2 separate regions of the Homo sapiens genome follow, and region 2 is linked to region 1. The links are contacts of gene promoters, found by promoter capture Hi-C in human tissues and cell types (Jung and others, 2019). All regions are on one chromosome and are shown on one strand. The core of a region is centred on a gene start or on the middle of the fragment in contact, and the rest is flanking DNA. Distances in the headings are between cores, read along the strand shown.

Region 1 (4,844 bases), core at 60-2,559:
CTTAAAATAAAAAATTAGCCTGGCGTACTGGCGCTCGCCTGTAATCCCTACTACTCGGGAGGCTGAGGCAGGAGAATCACTTGAACCCAGGAGGCAGAGGCTGCAGTGAGCCGAGATTGAGCCACTGCACTCCAGCCTGGGTGACAAAGCAAGACTCCGTCTCAGACAAAAAAAAAAGAAACTTCATCTTACATCACCTAAAATGCATTCCATCCCACCCTACTTGGGCATAATTAATTGCATCTTCCTCTGCAAACTGATCTGTGATTTTACACTAGATGGCATAAGAAAACCTGCATCAGCTTTTGAGCCAGACCCACCACTGCCACTTCCGAACTACATGACCTTAGATAGGCGTTTGCCCCACTCTGGGCCTCAGTTTCCTCCTTATGCAATAAGGATGATGAGCCTTATTTGTAACTCAAAGTTCGGTCCTTAGACCACTAGCATCAGCATTGCTGGGAGTTTGCTACAAATGCAGAATCTGCTCCCTTGCCTCAAACAAAATCTGCATTTTAATAAGATCCCCAGGTAATTCATATACACACTGAAGTTTAAGAATTCACGATACAATCAGCAAATGCCGGGTGCAGTAGCTCACGCCTGTAATCCCAGCACTTTGAAAGGCCGAGGTGGAAGGATCGCTTGAGGCCATGAGTTCGATACCAACCTGGGCAACACAGTGAGACTCTGTCTTTACAAAAAGTACAAAATTAAGATAAGGCAGTCAGCGAGGCACATGACAGCTGTTTAATCACCAAGTAACACCTGTTTCCCCCTCCCTAAAATGGAAAGAGTAACAGCATCCACCTCAAAGGGTTGTTGCAAAGATTAAATTAACTCAACAATGCACAGCACTTAAACCAGCGCCTAGCACACAGCAGGGCTCCACAAACTCTTGCTGGATATCAATATGGCTAACTCTTCAGTTGCTAAAGTTCTTTGCCTGCCTTCTTGTGCCGACAGAGGCCGCACTTGCGGCGCCTTGGGCCTCCCAGGGAGATCCGTTGCGGAGCGCCCAAACTGAGGCCGCCCTGGCATCCCAGTACCCCAGGGACTCCGGGCCGGGTTAGGCGACTTGGGGCGCCCCGAACCCACACTCACGCTTTCCAGCACGTCATAGTTGGCCTTGATCTGCGCTTCTATCTCCTCCTTGCGCCGCATCAGCTCCTGGACGTCGCTGACAGTCACGACGCCGGCCTGCGAGGAGCCTCCGCTCTGCCTCGCTTCCTCGTCGGACATCGTGAACCCCGGGCCGCGACTCCAGAGACCCGGCTCCCGGGCTAGGGACGACGCCCCAGTCGACCGTAACTACGGCTCCGCCCATGCGCCAAAACACCACAGCCGTCCGCGAACGCGAGAACAGTCAAGGGGCGGGGCTTGGGATGGGGCTTAGGGCGGAGCTGGGTCACCGGAAGCCGCGCCCTGCCGGAACACGTGCGCCTGTGGTGACCCGGCAGGAGTAGCGTCGGAAGCAATGGATCCCCACGCAATTGCACACCAACGCTAGGGGATGATCTCGCCCCAGCTGACTCATTTTCTCATTCGTGCAGCAGACATTTATTGAGCGCCTACTGTATGGATGGATACTGTACGCCAGAGAACCGCTGCGTGGCGCTCCAATTCAGTTCTTCACATCCACACAGCCCTGGAGGATTTACAAAATACATTAAGGTTCCTTATCCCTCACTTTACAGATCCGATATGCCTGAGTACACACCCCGTATCTTGCCACTTAACGGCAATCTGTGTGACCCTAGGTCACTACTTGGCTTCTCTGGGCCTCAGTTTCCTCATCTGTAAAATGGGGCAGTAATTGATAGCAATCTATCTCATAGAGCTGTCCTTCTGCTAACAAATATTCATGGAATGATTCCTATGAGCCATATACTGTTGAAGGTGCTGGATGTTCCTGTTAAGGCCTCTAAAAATCGTAGTGATAATAATAACGGTAACAGTGTTTATTTATTGATACTTATAATGTGCCAGACGCTGTTCTAAATGCCTTACATATATTAATTCAACAACCTCATGAAGCTAGATTATTACATCCCAATTTGACAGCTGAGAAAACCGTCTCAATAACCAATTTACCCAACTAGCAAAATGTGAGGCCAAAATTCCAACCCAGCTTACCTAAACAATCAACTTTGATATCTGACCATGTGCCTCTAATATTTTGTCTTGAAAAGGGCTCAGCGGTCATCTGTGTAGTATTCAAACATGTTTGCCCTGAATCTAATCATTGGAAAACAGACATATCCAAAAGAAGGGACATACTTCAAAACAACTGGCCTGAAAACTTCAAAAAAAGTCAATGTTGTGAAATACACATGGGGAATAAGGGGTGGGGGACAGAGAAAGGAGGCGGATATGCAATTGCCTAGATTTAAGAACACTAAAGATGTGCATCAACTAAATGCAATGGGCCAGGTGTGGTGGCTCATGCCTATAATCCCAGCACTTTGGGAGGCTGTGGCAAGCAGATCATTTGAGGTCAGGAGTTTGAGACTAGCCTCGCCAACATGGTGAAACCCTGTCTCTACCAAAAATATAAAATATTAGCCGGGTGTGGTGGCACACACCTGTAATCCCAGGTACTCAGGAGGCTGAGGTCTCGAACCCCTGGCCTCAAGTGATCCAGCCCAGCTCGGCCTTTCAAAGTGCTGGGATTACAGGAGTGAGCTACCGCACCCCTCAAAAATAAACTAACATTTCTAACATTATCGAGAGAGAGAGAGAGAGAAATACAGGTGCAGTGGCTCATACCTGTAGTCCCATTATGCTGGGAGATCAAGGCAGGAGGATCCCTTAGGTCCAGGAGTTTGAGACTAGCCTGGGCAACATAGCAAGACCTCCATCTCTACAAAAAAAAAAAAATAATAATTAATTAGCAGAGGACCAGGTGTGGTGATTCACACCTGTAATCCCAGCACTTTGGGAGGCTGAGGTGGGTGGATCACTTGAGGTCAGGAGTTCAAGACCAGCCTGGCCAACATGGTGAAACACCGTCTCTACTAAAAATACAAAAGTTACCAAGGCACAGTGCCACACACTTGTAATCCCAGCTACCTGGGAGGCTGACGCAGGAGAATCGCTTGAACCGGGGAGGCAGAGGTTGCAATGAGCTGAGATCATGTCACTGCACTCCAGCCTGAGTGACCGAGTGAGACTCTGTCTCAAATAAATAAATAAATAATAAAGTTAAAAAGGGAGGAAGAGAGAAATAATGACTAAATGCAATACATGATCCTTACTTGAATTATTTAATGAGAAACAGCAGCTTTACAAGACTTATTGGGCCAACTGGTGAAATCTAAATATGAACTTTATATTAAATTATAGTATATCAGTGTTAAATTTCCTCAGTCAGATAATGGTGTTGCAATTATATGAGAGAATCACTTTTATCTTTATTGGAACGAGATAAATGCTCAATTATTTAGATGTGTAGTGTCATGATTTCTGCTACTAACTTGCAAGTGGTCCGAAGAAAGTGATACAAGGGGAGAAAGAGGCAAAATGTAACAATTAGCAAATCCACGTGAAGAGTATAAGCATGTTCAAGAAAACTGTTTTGTAAGCTGCTTATGGCTATAATCCTAGCATTTTGGGAGGCCAGGGCAGGTGGCTCACTGCCTGAGCGGCAGAGCAAGACTCCGTCTCAAAAAAAAAAAAAAAAAAAAAACTAGGCCAGGCGCGGTGGCTCACGCCTGTAATCCCAGCACTTTGGGAGGCCAAGCCAGGTGGATCATGAGGTTAGGAGATCGAGACCATCCTGGCTAACACGGTGAAACTCCATCTCTACTAAAAATACAAAAATTTAGCCGGGCATGGTGGCACGTGCCTGTAGTCCCAGCTACTCAGGAGGCTGAGGCAGGAGAATGGCATGAACCTGGGAGACAGAGCTTGCAGTGAGCAGAGATCGTGCCACTGCACTCCAGCCCGGGCGAGAGAGTGAGACCCCATCTCAAAAAAAAAAAAAAAAACTAAATGCAATATGTGGCCAGGTGCGGTGGCTTACGCCTGTTATCTCAGCATTTTGGGAGACCGAGGCGGCTGGATCACCTGAGGTCAGGAGTTCAAGACCAGCCTGGCCAACATGCTGAAACCTTGTCCCTACTAAAAATACAAAAATTATCCGGGCGTGGTGGCTCTGTTGCCCAGGCTGGAGTGCAGTGGCGAGATCTCGGCTCACTGCAACGTCCACCTCCCTGGTTCAAGCAATTCCCCTGCCTCCCGAGTAGCTGGGATTACAGGCGTATGCCACCATGCTCGGCTAATTTTTTTGTATTTTTAGTAGAGACAAGGTTTCACCATGTTGGCCAGACTGGTCTAGAACTCCTGACCTCAGGCAATCCACCCGCCTTAGCCTCCCAATGTGCTGGGATTACAGGCGTGAGCCACCGCACCTGGCCAAATTTCCTGATTTTTAAAAAAATTGTAATATCCTCCCACCCTTGATATCTGAAAATTTCCTGATTTTGATACTTTCACTGTGGTTTTGTAAGACAGTGCCCTTAGAAAAAGTACCCTGTAGTATTTAGGGTTAAGAGAGGCAATTTACTTTCAAATGGTTCAGAAAAGAATACAGATATAGGCCGGGCGTGGTGGCTCACACCTGTAATCCCAGCACTTTGGGACACCGAGGTGGGCGGATCACAAGGTCAAGAGATGGAGACCATCCTGGCCAACATGGTGAAACTCTGTCTCCACCAAAAATACAAAAATTAGCTGGACGTGGTGACTCATGCCTGTAGTCACAGCTACTCGGGAGATTGAGTCAGGAGGATCACTTGAATCCGGGAGGCAGAGGTTACAATGAGCCGAGATGGTGCTACTGC
Region 2 (4,671 bases), core at 502-3,001, 330 kb after region 1:
AGGCTGTCATAACAAAGTACCACAAAGTGAGTGGCTTAAAACCACAGAAGTTTATTCTCTCACACTTCTGCAGGCTAGAAGTCCAAAATTAAGGGTGTCTGTAGGGCTACATTTCCCCCTGAAGTCTCTAGGGGCAGGTCCTTCCTTGCCTTCTCTGGCTTCTGGTGGTGGCTGGCAGTGCTTAGTGCGCCTTGGCTTGTAGCTGCGTCACTCTGATCTCTGCCTCCGTCTTCACGTGGCTGTCTTCCTTCTGTGTGTCTGTGTCCACATTTCCTTTGTCATGGCTGGGCACGGTGGCTCACGCCTGTAATCCCAGCACTTTGGGAGGCTGAGGTGGGTGGATCACCTGAGGTCAGGAGTTCAAGACCAGCCTGGGCAAAATGGTGAAACCCCGTCTCTACTAAAAATACAAAAAAATTAGCCGGAAGTGGTGGTAGGCGCCTGTAATCCCAGCTAATCGGGAGGTTGAGGCAGGAGAATCGCTTGAACCCAGGAGGCAGAGGTTGCAATGAGCTGAGATTGTACCACTGAACTCCATCCTGGGGAACAGAGTGAGACTCTGTCTCAAAAAAAAAAAAAAAAAAAAAAAATTCTCTTGTCTTATTAGGCCTACCCTAATCCCATATGATCTCATTCTAGCTTGATCACGTCAGCAAAGACCCTGTATCACAGATATTAGGGACTGAACATATATTTTGGGGGAGTGCAGTTCAACTCACAGTACCCCTTGAGGTACGTGGGTAGCCAAAACCGTTAGCAAATTACAGGGAACTGGGTAGGCTGAGGAGGGGAGGGTGCTGATTTCTGGTTAGTGCCTTCCCTGCGTCTACTGTTCGATCTGGGTCATAATCTTAGCTAATCCTACAACCTTTTTTTCTTTTTAAAATTACATTTTTATTGATTTACTGGCTTAGTTCACTTTGTGTTGCTATAAAGGAATGCCTGAGGTTGGATTTTTTTTTTTTTTTTAAGGACAGAGTCTCACTCTGTCGCCCAGGTTGGAGTGCAGTGGCACCATCTCAGCTCACTGCAACCTCCGCTTCCTGGATTCAAGTGATTCTCCTGCCTCAGCCTCCTGAGTAGCTGGGGTTACAGGTGCGCATAACCAGGCCTGGCTCAATTTTTGTATTTTTAGTAGAGACAGGGTTTCACCATGTTGTCCAGGTTAGTCTCAAACTCTTGACCTCAAGTGATCCACTTGCCTCGGCCTCCCAAAGTGCTGGGATTACAGGCTTGAGCCATGGTGCCCAGCTGGGTTGGATTATTTATAAAGAAAGGTTTATTTGATTCAGCTCTGCAGGCTGTACAGGAAGCATGGAGCCAGCATCTGCTTCTGGTGAGGACTTCAGGAAGCTTCCAGTCATGATGGAAGGGGAGGGTGAGCTGGTGTGTCACATAGCCACAGAGGGAGCAAGAGAGAGAGGAGGGAGGTGCCAAATGCTTCTAAATAATCCAGCCTGTAGCCCCAGCTATTTGGGAGGCTGAGGTAGGAGGATCGCTTGAGCCCAGGAGTTTGAGGCTACAGTGAGCCATGTTCAAGCCACTGCACTCCAGCCTAATGAGCAGAGTGAGGCTTTGTCTCAAAAAACAAAAAACAGGCCGAGTGCAGTGGCTCACCCCTGTAATCCCAGCATTTTGGGAGGCTGAGGAGGGCAGATCACAATGTCAGGAGTTCAAGACCAGCCTGGCCAACATGGTGAAACCCCATCTCTACTAAAATACAAAAAATTAGCCAGGCGTGGTGGTGCGTTCTTGTAGTCCCAGCTACTCGGGAGGCTGAGGCAGGAGGATCTCTTGAACTTGGGAGGCAGAGGTTGCAGTGAGCCGAGATCGTGCCACTGTACTCCAGTGTAGGTGAGAGAGTGAGACTCCGTCTCAAAAAAAAAACAAAAAACAAAAAAAACAAAACAAAAACCCAATTCAGTCTCATGGGAACTAATAGAGTGGGAATTCACTCTTTATGCAAGGAGGGTACCAAGGCATTCGTGAAGGATCCACCCTCACGTCCCAAACACCACACACCAATTCCTACCTCTAACATTGGAGATATTTGAGAGATATTCATGTTTCAACATGAGATTTGAGATTTGGGGGGGAAAAATATCCAAACTATATCACTTACTTATTTATATTCTTATAAAAAATTTTGGCCAGGTGTGGTGGCTCACGCCTATAATCTCAGACATTTTGGGAGGCCTAGGTGGGCAGATGACTTGAGCCCAGGAGTTTGACACCAGCCTGGGCAATATGGCGAAACCCCGTCCCTACAAAAAATACAAATATTAGCCGGGTATGGTGGCCCACGCCTGTAATCCCAGCTACTTTGGTGGTTTAGGCACAAGAATTACTTGAACCAGGGAGGTGGAGGTTGCAGTGTGCTGAGATCGTGCCACTGCACTCTAGCCTGGGAGACAGAGCGAGACTCTGTCTCAAAAGAAAAAAATAAAATTACCCCAGACTAGTTATTCTTTCTTTTTTGATACTTTGACACTTGCAAAATAAATAACATTTTCAGGGTCTTAAGGTATAATTTTGTAAATTACTATATCCTCATAACTAAATGATATGATTAAACATTATTTTAAATTGGTATCCATTTTTTATAAAATAGGATTGCTATCTACTGTTTTTTAAAATTTTTTATTTTTTAAGATAGAGTCTCACTCTGTCACCTAGGCTGGAGTGCAGTGGCACAGCCATTGCTCACTGTAGCCTCTGCCTTCCAGGCTCAAGTGATCCTCCCAAGTAGCTGGGAATACTGGTGTCTGCCAACATGCACAGATAATTTTTAAATTTTTTGTAGAGATGGGGTCTTGACATGTTATCCAGGCTGGTCTTGAACTCCTGGGCTTAAGTGATCCTCCTGCTTCAGCTTCCCAAAGTGTTGGGGTTACAGGTGTGAGTCACCACACTCAGCCTACTCTTGCATTCATCAAATATTTGAGTGCTGCATGAATCCCAGATGCAGATGTTCTTTTGTTTTTTCTGGTCCACATTTGGACTAAGACTGAAAATCATAACTTGTGGATTAATACCTGTGTGCATGTGAGAGAGGTATATATACCTGGGATTAAATGAGAGTATAAAAGTGTTAATTTAAAGTATGTTACAGGCCGGGTGCGGTGGCTCACGCCTGTAATCCCAGCACTTTGGGAGGCTGAGGCAGGTGGATCACCTGAGGTCAGGAGTTCTAGACCAGCCTGGACAACATGGTAAAACCCCGTCTCTACTGAAAATACAAAAATTAGCTGGGCGTGGTGGCAGGCGCCTGTAATCCCAGCTACTCGGGGGGCTGAGGCAGGAGAATCGCTTGAACCTGGGAGGCAGAGGTTGCAGTGAGCCGAGATCGCGCCATCGCCATCGCACTCCAGCCTGGGGGACAAAAGAGAGACTTTGTCTCAAAAAAAAAAAAAAGTATGTTACAAAGGGCAAGTATCATGATATATACAAGGTATACATTTATTTGGAAACACTCCCAGATTACTTGCCATCTCTGAGACTCTCCATTTTAAAAAAGTAAAAAGTTTCATTGAAATATAAGTCACAGACCATACAATTCATTTCACCCCACTTTTTTTTTTTTTGAGACAGGATCTGGCTCTGTTGCCCAAGCTGGAGTGCAGTGGCACGATCATGGCTCACTGGAGCCTCAACCTCCTGACGCTCAAGCAGTCCTCCCACTTCAGCCTTCAGAGTAGCTGGGACCACCGGTGTGGGTCACCATGCTTGGCCAATTTGTGTGTGTGTGTGTGTGTGTGTGTGTGTGTGTGTGTGTGTGTGTGTGTGTGGAGCTGGGGTGTCACTATATTACCCAGGCTGATCTCAAACTTCTAGGGCCCAGCGCTCCTTCCAGCTCTGTCTCCCAAACTGTTGGGATTACAGGTGTGAGCCACCAGCCACCAAGGCCGGCCACAATTCACTTGTTTTCAGTATATTCACAGAGCTGTGCAACCATTATGAAAGTCCATTTTAGAACTTTTTCATCATTCCCCAGAAGAACCCCACACCCATTTGCATCTTGAATATGTTGTAGGGTCCTAAGCAGTCTGTTCACTGGGACTGGCCAGCAACGATTTAACTGGCTGTGATGCTGGGCAAGTCCCTAAACTTCCCAGCTCCTCACCTTCTCCACCTCTAGTTACAGATGAAACTGACCGACTCGGTAACGCTACCTACCTGTAGGTGCTCCAAGTGAGTGTGAAGTGCATGAACTCAGTTATGTCTCAGGACAGCTCCTGGGCTGGCTATTTGTTCCCCATGTTATAGATGAAGAAGAAACTGATTCCCAGAGAAGCCAAGAGCCCGAGGCACAGGCTGGAGGCTCCGCTGGGAACCGAACCCTCTAAATTTTAACAGTGTGTGGGTAGGGGTAGCTGAGCTTGGCCTTCAGTGCTGACTTGCAGGACTCTGGGTTCGTGATTTTAGTGCTCTTTATCCTATTTGCTACCTGCCCAGCAGACTCCTTTGCACAGGGAGCTTTGCAGACATGACCTTGAGCAAGATTAGGGAGGAGAAGTGGGTGGAGGTGGGAGGCTGGCCAGAGAGCGAGAGTGGGGAGGGTACCGGGGTTCTTTCTTTCTTTTTTTTTTTTGAGACAGAGTCTTGCTCTGTCGCCCAGGCTGTAGTGCAGTGGCGCGATCTCGGCTCGCTGCAACCCCGCCTCCCGGGTTC

Evidence for each region. Contacts are between HindIII fragments. The study calls those that stand out against the background at their distance.
Region 2: a fragment that was not itself captured here is called in contact with the fragment with the promoter of PSMD9 in region 1 in 1 of the 25 tissues and cell types used here (liver).

Annotation. Positions count from the first base shown.
Region 1 is chr12:121,885,255-121,890,098 of GRCh38, reverse strand. It overlaps PSMD9 (proteasome 26S subunit, non-ATPase 9), which reads right to left and starts at 1,309. Exons shown (of 6, transcript NM_002813.7): 1 at 1,105-1,309. The coding sequence starts at 1,242. It also overlaps a transcript of HPD not described here. RefSeq lists enhancers at 425-1,038, 1,006-1,405, 1,039-1,652. The HindIII fragment of the contact is 23,703 bases long and covers 1-4,844 here.
Region 2 is chr12:121,553,151-121,557,821 of GRCh38, reverse strand. All of the region lies in intron 4 of KDM2B (lysine demethylase 2B), which reads left to right. Among named protein-coding and RNA genes, the nearest start is that of KDM2B-DT, 25 kb to the left of the region's middle. The HindIII fragment of the contact is 4,739 bases long and covers 1-4,120 here.